Linked DNA regions of Homo sapiens: all the other regions are linked to region 1. Evidence: promoter capture Hi-C in human tissues and cell types (Jung and others, 2019). All regions are on one chromosome and are shown on one strand. Each heading gives the region's core, a stretch centred on a gene start or on the middle of the fragment in contact. The rest is flanking DNA. Distances are from core to core; before and after follow the strand shown. Region 1 holds the start of PIK3CD (phosphatidylinositol-4,5-bisphosphate 3-kinase catalytic subunit delta). Region 2 holds the start of CLSTN1 (calsyntenin 1). Region 3 overlaps CTNNBIP1 (catenin beta interacting protein 1).

Region 1 (3,027 bases), core at 398-2,897:
CCTTAACTGTAAAATGAAGACAACACCACTCAGCTCCTACAGTTGTCCAGCTGAAATCACCTAGGTAAGAACGACCAGTTCTTTGGGGAGTAATGTCCCGATGGTACCATTCAATTGTCAAGAACACCAAGGCACCGTCAGGCACCCGGGCGGTATCCCACTCTCCTGGAAGAGAGCAGGGGGTTAGCCCTTGGTTTCAAAGTCCCTAGGGAGCAGTAAACCTTCCCCTCCGAGAGCCCTGAGAGAGGAATAATTGCCCCTTCCCACTCCAACCCACGGCACACCCGCCCACATCCACGTGCGGCTGTGCCCAGCATCTCAGAGGTAGGACTTCTCAGGAATCGGCGGGAAGAAGCCCCCTTGATGGAGTCTGGTGGGGTTCAAGATCTGCAGGTCCCACCTTCCAGGGAACACCTGCACAAGTGAGACCTGCCCGATCAGCCCCGCGCTCCATCCGCAAACTGGGCAGATCCCAAGGGTGCCACGCGAGGACCCTGCACCTTGGCCGCTCCAGGGCGCCCCCCACCCGCGACCCCGGAAATCTCGCCCCTACCTGCTTCACCCTCGCCCCACCCACAGCGCACTTTTCGGGACCTCCCAGCGGCCCTTCCCCGGTTCTCTGGACCCCCGTCTCCCCGCCCTGCAACGCCCCCATCCTGGTGCCCACGAAAGGTCGTCCCAGTTCCCCTCTTCTCTACCTCAAAGGAGGAGGTGCAAATGAGGAAGCCTAAATAAAAACAGGAAACTCGATTTTTTTAAAAAGCCTCATTCAGGCTGAATTACGGGTAAGAGTATTTTTTTAAAAAGTCCGGAAATGCAAAGCTGGGGGCGGTTTTGCCGGCGTAACCCCGGCTCGGCCGCAGATCCGGAGCTGATCTCGCCTGCGCCGCTGCAGCAAACGCGGCGAGCAACGCGGGAGGCCCGGGACTGGGAGGCGGGGCGCGGGTCCACGAGCCGGGAGGAAGCCCCGAAAACTTCCACCCCGGCCCCTCTGCAGCCCCGCTCCCCACTTGCCCAGGCTGGGAAGGGCGCACAGGACCCGGGCGCCGGCGAACTGTGCGCAGCCCTCTCTCCGCGCCAGGGCACTCGGGCGACATCACCAGCGCGCTCTCTGTGGACCCCGCTGCCGTACAGAGGAGGCCCCTGGTCCTCTAGTCAGCGCTCGGAGCGGGCGCACGCGCTGAGCGCTTCCAGTATCCTCGCGCCTCAGCCGGCGCACCGGAGGCCGCACCGCCGCTGTGAGCGCAGCTGAAACCCCGCTGCCGGGCCAGGCGGGCAAGGCGCGCAGTGCAGGCGCCGGGGAGCTGCGCACGCCCCTCTCGGCGGGCCCACGGGGGACGGCCCCGGGCCTCTAGGGCAGCCCCCGCCCAGGTCCCAGCAGCCCGGCCCCCGGGGCTCCCAGGACCCGGCTCGCTAGACTCGGGGAGGCGCCCAGGGCCAGGGCGCACGGGCTGTGTGTGCCGGAGAGACGCCCGCCAGCCAGCCCCGCGCCCCCGAGCGCAGCCGCAGCTCCCAAAGCCCCTGGCCGCGGTCCTCTTCCCACCTCCCCTGACGCAGCCAGCGGCGATCGCTTACCGTCCCGGCGCAGCTGGCAGGGCTGGGCGGCTCTGCTCGCGGCCGCTCGGAGCGACTGCGCTGGGCGCGAGTGAGCCTCGAGGGAGGGAGGCGGGGCGCGCCGGGGCGCCCCGCCTGCCGCCAACCCGCACACTCCACTTCCCACTTTGTTTCCTTTTCACTTGCAACAGGAAAAACAACAGGTCCTCCAGGGCCTCGCCTTCCCCCGCCGCCCACACTCCCCAGTTCGCCTACCGCTAGAGGGGCATCATCCCAGGTGCCTCTGGAAGCTGCACCTTGCTTGCCCTTCTACAAAACAAGTTTTCTTTTTATGCAAAGGAAAACAACGAAATAAAGGTCCTAGGCGCCTTTAAGCGCTCCGCCTTCACGCAGGAAAGAATTTCAGCAGGAGCGGGAGAAAGGCTGAGAGCAGGAGAAGAAGAGGGGGTAACCTGCAGCTCTAGGCACCCAGGGACCCCAAGCGCCATTGCGAGGTGACCAGTGTTGGGGCTCAGGACACACACCCAAAATGTGACTATGGGAGACCAGCGTGTGCCACCCCAAAATATACTTCTTCGCCATATTTTGAAGGGATTATTCTTAGAAACTGCAGGCACAGGAGTAGATCTGAAAAGCTGTCCTTTTGTAAAATGATTTCTATCTATAAAGAAAATCTCCAGGCCTGGCACTGTGGCTCACTCCTGCAATCCCAGCAATTTGGGAGGCCGAGGCGGGAGGATCACTTGAGCCCAGGAATTCAAGCCAGCCTGGGCAACATAGGGAAACCCCCGTCTCTACAAAAAAATTAAAAATTAGCCAGTCGTGGTGGTGCACACCTTGTAGTCCCAGCTACTCGGGAGGCTGAGGTGGGAGGATGGCTTGAGCCAGGGAAATGGAGGCTGCAGTGATCCATGATGGCACCACTGCACTCCAGCCTGGGAAACAAAGTGAGACCCTGTCTCAAAAACAGAAAAGAAAAGGAAAATCTCCATTGGTAAAGTATTAGTATCAGGCGGAGGGCTGCTCAGAGCTAACTTTTCTTACCTGAGAAATTTTATCCGCATAAGAAGACAAGCTTCATTCACCTTACCCTCTCTCCCCTCACTCTCCCTTAACTTGTGTACCACCTCCCCAGGATCCCAAGCCTCTATTCCTTTTTTTCTTTTCTTTTCTTTCTTTTTCTTTTTTCTTTTCTTTTTTTTGAGACAGTCTTGCTCTGTTGTCCAGGCTGGAATGCAGTGGTGCCATCTCGGCTCACTGCAATCTCTGCATCCTGGGTTCAAGCAATTCTCCTACCTCAGCCTCCCAAGTAGCTGGGATTACAGGCACACGCCACGACACCCAGCTGATTTTCATGTTTTTTTGTTTGTTTTTTGTTGTTTTGTTTCTTTGTTTTGTTTATTTTGAGGAATCTTGTTCTGTTGCCCAGGCTGGAGTGCAGTGGCGTGATCTTGGCTCACCACAGCCTCAGCC
Region 2 (3,207 bases), core at 377-2,876, 170 kb before region 1:
GAAGCAATGGCAACACCCGTCACCAGGGGAGAGGATGACTCAAAGCCTTGGCTGGAAGGAGTGGTGGGTGTGGCTTGGAGCCTGCCCGGGCCAGGCAGGTGCTTTGGGAAGGGTCCAGCCAAGGAGAGTCCGGTCTTCCTCCACGCAGGGGAGGGGGAGCAGGGGAAGGAAGGAGAGACATTAACAAGATGGAATCTGTAGGCTTTGGTGCAGGACGCTTACGGGGAACACGGCTCAGGGAGTTGGATTCCAGATTGCTTTTGAAGCCTTCCCCAGGTCACATCACACCGCTGTTCCCAGCCGTTCCAGGTCTTCCTGTTGACTGTAGGATCAAGTCCATTCCCCCAATCTGACCTCAGTCTACGTTTTTGGGCTCTTTGCCCACTAGTCTCCTAAATAAGTCCTCTGCGCCCCACAAACCAGTCTCCACCCAGCCTCCAGTGCTGCCAGCCTCCTCCACCCCCACCTGGAGCAGTGACATTCATGGATAGCTCCTCCAGCGGTCTCGAAAAATGAACATTTTAGGGTTCCACTTTTTGCTGTTGGTGTCCCCCTAATGCGAACATCCTGTCCTTGAGGGCTGATTCTTTTTACAATAGTTGTCCCAACGGGGGAAGTCATTTCACCTTTCTGACTTAGTTTCCTTATCTGCAAAATGGAGCCAGTAGTGTCTCATAGGGTACAGTGCCTGCACACACGCCCATCCACGGCTGTTCCAGGCCTTTCCTCCACTGCGGGGGGGTGCCAGGGGTCCAGAGGCGAGGAGGAGGGGGCCGCTGGACGCTGGGAAATTGGGAGGACCCCAAGATCCCTGTAGGGATCCACGGTAGAGGGGGAGGGCTTCTCTGTCCTCTCTATCCATTCGGACCTCCGCATTTCTAAGAACCAGCATCGCACCATGTCACTGAGAAAGAGCGCGCACACCAGCCGCCTTTTGAAAGTCACAAATAGATTCCTTCAGTGAATTCAGGACAGACTCCCCGGGGGCAGGTCCCGGGGCGGGAGCCGGTGTGGGTAGTGCTGCGCGGCCCTTAACTGTTTACCAGGCGCGTTTCGCTGACCTCGTCTCCTGGACCCCCTTTCGTGACCCCTCTCAACACCTCTACTGGGGAGACGAGGACCCCGAGGTTCTGGGGGGCGACGCGACCTGCCCGAAGTGACAAGGGTCCTGGGCCGCACTGCTCCGCCGGGGTCTGCGCTCCTCGGCGGAGCGGGTGGGAAGGATGAGTCCTCGGGGTGGAGAAGGAGGAGCGGGTCCCCGGGTACCGCTCACCCGGCCTTAGGAGCCCGGGAGCGCGCGTAGGGACGCGGAGTTGAGGCTCTCCATCTGCGGCCAGGGAAAGGGATACAGTCCCCCGGGCCCCTCCCGGCCGCTCGGAACCCACCCCAGGCGCGTCCCCGCGGGCGCGCGCTCCAGGCGGGGCCGACGGGCTCGGAGGCGCGCGCCCGCTGCCGGGTCCGCCGCGCGCGCTCCCTCCGCTCCTCTCCCCCGCCCCTCCCGGGCCCGCGCGCTCCCAGGGTCCGCCGCGCGCGCGCCTCGCGTCGCTCCCCATCCCCGCCCCTCCCGCCGCCACCCCGCCCCCGGCCGGGTACCCTCGCCGGACCCGAGAGAGAGCGCCGCCGCCATCTTAGTTGCTGCCGCTGCCTTCAGCAAGACGCTGCTCTGAGGCGGGGAGGGCGCCGCGTCCTGAGCGCGCGGCCCAGCGTCACGGCGGCGGCGGCGGCGGCTCCTCCTTGGACCCCCGGAGCTCCCCGCGCCGCGGAGCAGCTAGCCCCAGGCCCCTAGAGCCCCGAGAGCTCCGAGAGCTCCGCTCGGCGTCCCGCGCGCCTCCCTGCCGCTCCCGCCCCGGGCTGGCGATGCTGCGCCGCCCCGCTCCCGCGCTGGCCCCGGCCGCCCGGCTGCTGCTGGCCGGGCTGCTGTGCGGCGGCGGGGTCTGGGCCGCGCGAGGTAAGCCCCGGGGCTGGGCCGGGCCGCTGGGTCGGTGCGGGATTCGGGTCCGGGTGCAGGATTCGGGTCCCGGTGCGGGGATTCGGGTCCGGGTGCGGGAGTAGGGCCGGATGCCGGGATTCGAGCCGGGATGCGGGGAGTCGGGTCCGAGCGCAGGGAGCCGGGTCAGGGCGTGGGGTTCGGGTTGGGGGTCGGGCTCGCGGAGCCGGGGCCAGGGCGCAGGAGACTGTGGGCGCGCGCTGCAGGCGTCCCGGGGAAGCCAGGCTCCGTCCCGGGCGGGGCTCCTGAGCCTGGGCTGCCCCCACTGCAGCCCATGGTGGTGGCTGCGCTGATTTGGGGGAACGTGCAGACGGGCCGAAGGGTCAGTCCGCCCTGCTCAGCGGCGCACGCAGGCTGGGGCTGCACCCCTGGGTGAGATGCTCTGTGTACGTGTGCTCAGATGTGCATCAGGCGGGGGGTGCACGCACAGTTTTGGTGTGTGCTTACATAAGAGCCCACTCCTCCGCATCCCGTTTCCAAGATCCCGATTCTGTGTTGCTGCACCGCGGACACCACGACTTCGCCCCTTTCCGCCTCCTCCCAGAGTCCTTCAGACGTTGTCTGTTTCCAGTGGAGCCGAGGCTGAAACTTAGTGCTTCCCTCCCACCTTTTCACCCAAAGGTGAAATCGCGATGAGATTTGCGACCGCGGGCTCACCCAGTGTTAGAAATCTCCGTCTCTGCTACCCCTGGTGCCTTGGTGCTGTTTTTCTGACGGTCATTTAGACCGTGGAGGGTTAGATGTTCTCTACAAAAACGAGAAACCTCTCTGGTTTTTTAGGATTGTAGGACCGAAATTATTTTATGGCTCGGTGGGAAGTAGTATTTCTTGGCTAATTTATTATTAGCTTTTAACCTTCATCCACTTAACCTTTTAAACCTTGCATGCCTCTGCTATTGACTGGTCTTGCCAACGAAAAGCTTACGCATTGCAGATACAGTATTTGCTTCTGAGTGGATCTTGAAATCGTAAACATTTTCCTTGGCCTTAGAGCAGAGTAATCTAGGTGTAGTCTGTAGAATCTACTGTAGGCTTAAATCTGTTGTTCTGATTTTTTTTTAATCAAAAGAAATTTTGGGGAGGAGGATTGATAGAAATCTAGATGAAATGGTCATATTTGAATTTAGCAAGCTTTTTAAAAATTCTTATTTTCCCTTCCCTGGCGTGACATAAGGAGAGAAGTATGGTGTTCACGAATTAAAGGGCAGAGGCGGCAAATG
Region 3 (3,206 bases), core at 42-2,541, 240 kb before region 1:
GACCCATCAGGAGTTTTTGTCCCGATACCGTTTCCCACAGTAAGTTAATGGGATAAACACATGGGAGATTCTGAAGGGGTCTTTGTTTAAAGCATTGTTGATTTTGATTATTGGCTTGTTAAACATTTGGAGAGGAAGGAAACTGAGTCCTCAACAGCCTCTTAGGGGGAGGTTTCCTCCTTCCTTGGATTATGTTTTGTTCCGAGGTAGCTGGAGGGGAAAGGATCAGGAAGGTCGCCTCCTGCTTAGTAGAGCAGAAGCAATCACCCAAACAAGCAAGCAGTGTGGCTCACGTGATGCGTGGAGCCAGGAACCCTGGCCTCTGTAGCACAGATGGGTGTATTTGCGAAGTAAACAGATACACCTATATCTTTATGCAAATTAACACATACCTTTATGCTGACAGCCTGTTGGAAAGAGGCAGTGGCCTTAAAACTTCTTTTCTTTTTTTTTTTTTGAGACAGTCTCGCTCTGTTGCCCAGGCTGGGGTGCAGTGGTGTGATCATAGCTCACTGCAACCTCAGACTCCTGGGCTCTTGGGATCCTCCCACCTCAGCCTCCCAAGTAACTGGGCCTACAGGTGCAAGCCACTGCACACCCAGCTAATCTTTTTTTTTTTTTTTTTTTAGACGGAGTCTCGCTCTGTCCCCCAGGCTGGAATGCAGTGGCGCGATCTCGGCTCACTCCAAGCTCTGCCTCCCGGGTTCACGCCATTCTCCTGCCTCAGCCTCCCGAGTAGCTGGGACCACAGGCACCCACCACCACGCCTGGCTAATTTTTTGTATTTTTAGTAGAGACGGGGTTTCACCGTGTTAGCCAGGATGGTCTTGATCTCCTGACCTCATGATCCGCCCGCCTCAGCTTCCCAAAGTGCTGGGATTAGAGGCGTGAGCCACCGCGCCCAGGCTGCACCCAGCTAATCTTTTAAAGATTTTTTGTAGAAGCCAGGCTCGGTGGCTCATGTCTATAATGCCAGCACTTTGGGAGGCTGAGGTAGGCAGATCACATGAGGTCAGGATTTTGAGACCAGCCTGGCCAACATGGCAAAACCCTGTCCCTACTAAAAATACAAAATAAAATTAGCTGGACATGGTGGCACGCACCTGTAGTCCCAACTACTCGGGAGGCCGAGGCAGGAGAATCACCTGAGACTGGAAGGCAGAGGTTGCAGTGAAACGAGATTGCGCCACTGCACTCCAGCCTGGGCGACAGAGGGAAAGAGCGAGACCCCATCTCCAAAAAAAAAAAAAAAAAAAAAAAAAAAAATTTAAAGAGATGGGGTCTTACTTTATTGCCCAGGCTGGTTTTGAAGTCCAGGCCTCAAGCAATTCTCCTACCTCAGTCTCCCAAAGTGCTGGGATTACAGGCATTTGCCACTGTGCCCAACAAAACTTATTTTCCGAAGAGTTTGATTGGGAAGCGTTTCCCCAGGAGGCTGCACCTGGGGTCTCTCAGCCAGGTCCTGAGGATGACCATCCCCAGAGCCGGGTGGTGAGGAGGGGGCTGCTTCCGGGGGCACAGTCCTGCAGCCGATCCAATTGATTTAATGACCTAATCCTCACCACAGGAAGCTGGAGGCTTTCCCAGCCCTGGGATTCTGAGGGGATGCAGCAAACTCAGTTCAGGAAGCTTGTTTGTTTGAACCAATTATAGAGGCTTTAATGAGGGAAAGCTATGGAGGGAATGGGGCAAGGGGAGAAGAGCTGGAGAGAGAGGTGCCTGTTGAGAAGATCTGGGTGACCCTCAGGCAATGGGAGGGCCGGGCCATGCCCAGGCCTGCCTCTGAGGATGAGGCTTGTCCTTGTGGGAATGGGGTGGCGTGAACATGTCAGTGTGGTTCAGAGTGAAGGGACCTTATGTACCTTGTGGAGAAACGTGAGTGCCCCCCACCCCCGCCAAAAATAGCACTGTGTCAGTTTTCCCCCTTTCTTCTTGAAGTACTTTTAAATTTCCTAATGTAATTAAAATTTTAAGCTGTGACCCTGCAAAGAGCTGGCATAGCTTTTGACAGCGGGATTGATGGAGCTTCCATAGGTCAAAATTTCCAGTCTGATCGCACTCTCTGGAGGTGACCCGCACTCTCTGGAGGTGACCCATGCTCTCCAGAACCTCTGGGCCAGGCTCCATCCCTGGAATTACTAGGTCTGGAAGTGGTCCCTTCCTGACAGAAATGCAAATTAATTTGCCTTTTGGGGACTTAGTCAGCTTGCTGGGGATCTCTCTGGTGTCCCAGGAGAGAAAAAGCGTTCCTCTACCTCCAGTTGACACAGAGGATCTTTTGATGCCTTTGCTCAGGAAGCTTCCTGCCAGGTGCACAGCCCATGGGGAAGGTCGGTCAGGCCTGGGAGGCCTCATACCCAGGAGTGAGGGGGCGCTTGTACCCATGCAAGAGCTAGGATTCCAGCCCTTCCATTGGCTTATAAATAGAAGAAGGCTCTGGATTCTGCATTAGTAACCCCTCTGGAACCTGCCAGAGGCTGAAGGTAATGAGTCAGACTGAATTAAAGGAAGATCCGTGGCTGGATTTTGTAGGCGTGCTGGTTCCTGACTTCAGGTCTCAGGCTCTGACTTGGCCAGGTTCCAGGGCTCCAGCTGTTCTCTGGGAAGAAAAAAGAACCTCTTTTAAAATTAAGCCGAAAGATGCCTTTCTTTTCTTCTGTCCTTGTCCCCCCACTGTGCAGAGAGAAAACCTCCACCAGCACGTCCCCTTGGTTAGAACAGTAGAGCCTGAAGACATAGCCCAGGATCTTCAGTGTTCTGGGGCAGCCAAGGAAACTTCCTCAGGCTCCACATGCCTTCCTGTTTGCATTGTTTTCAGCTGAATTTCAAGAGGCTGTCAGAGCAGGCCTGCCAGGTACTCTTGCCTCTGTAAAAAGGTGGGTTTCACTCAATTCAGGACTGGAGAGACAACGAGATCTGGGCCAGAATCACAAGGATAAATATTTTAAACCAGAAGATGTAAACAGATGCCTCATGCCAATCCAGTTATAGGAACATGCAGGTTCCTCCAGCTCCTTGGTGTGTTAGGATTATCTGAAGTGAGGCCATGCAAAGGCTGGGGGGCACTTCCTTCATGGTTCCCATTCACTTCACCACTCGAGGAGCCCCAGTTGTGGCTAGCAGTGGTGTCTCACCTGTCCAGATTCTTCAGCACAGAGCCTTACAAGTTTTTCTAGGGTCCACAAAAATATTGGCCATGTGGGAAA

Evidence for each region. Contacts are between HindIII fragments. The study calls those that stand out against the background at their distance.
Region 2: a contact is called between the fragment with the promoter of CLSTN1 here and the fragment with the promoter of PIK3CD in region 1, in 5 of the 25 tissues and cell types used here (IMR-90 fibroblasts, adrenal gland, bladder and 2 more).
Region 3: a fragment that was not itself captured here is called in contact with the fragment with the promoter of PIK3CD in region 1 in 2 of the 25 tissues and cell types used here (dorsolateral prefrontal cortex and mesenchymal stem cells).

Annotation. Positions count from the first base shown.
Region 1 is chr1:9,650,351-9,653,377 of GRCh38, reverse strand. It overlaps PIK3CD (phosphatidylinositol-4,5-bisphosphate 3-kinase catalytic subunit delta), which reads right to left and starts at 1,647. Exons shown (of 24, transcript NM_005026.5): 1 at 1,576-1,647. PIK3CD-AS1 (PIK3CD antisense RNA 1) reads left to right here. Exons shown (of 2, transcript NR_027045.1): 2 at 1-768. RefSeq lists an enhancer at 595-664 and a silencer at 845-1,734. The HindIII fragment of the contact is 15,008 bases long and covers 1-3,027 here.
Region 2 is chr1:9,822,384-9,825,590 of GRCh38, reverse strand. CLSTN1 (calsyntenin 1) reads left to right here and starts at 1,626. Exons shown (of 19, transcript NM_001009566.3): 1 at 1,626-1,948. The coding sequence starts at 1,858. RefSeq lists silencers at 1,365-1,424, 1,445-1,494, 1,665-1,814, 1,825-1,904 and an enhancer at 1,036-1,752. The HindIII fragment of the contact is 7,682 bases long and covers 1-3,207 here.
Region 3 is chr1:9,889,842-9,893,047 of GRCh38, reverse strand. All of the region lies in intron 1 of CTNNBIP1 (catenin beta interacting protein 1), which reads left to right. Among named protein-coding and RNA genes, the nearest start is that of CTNNBIP1, 19 kb to the left of the region's middle. The HindIII fragment of the contact is 3,526 bases long and covers 1-3,054 here.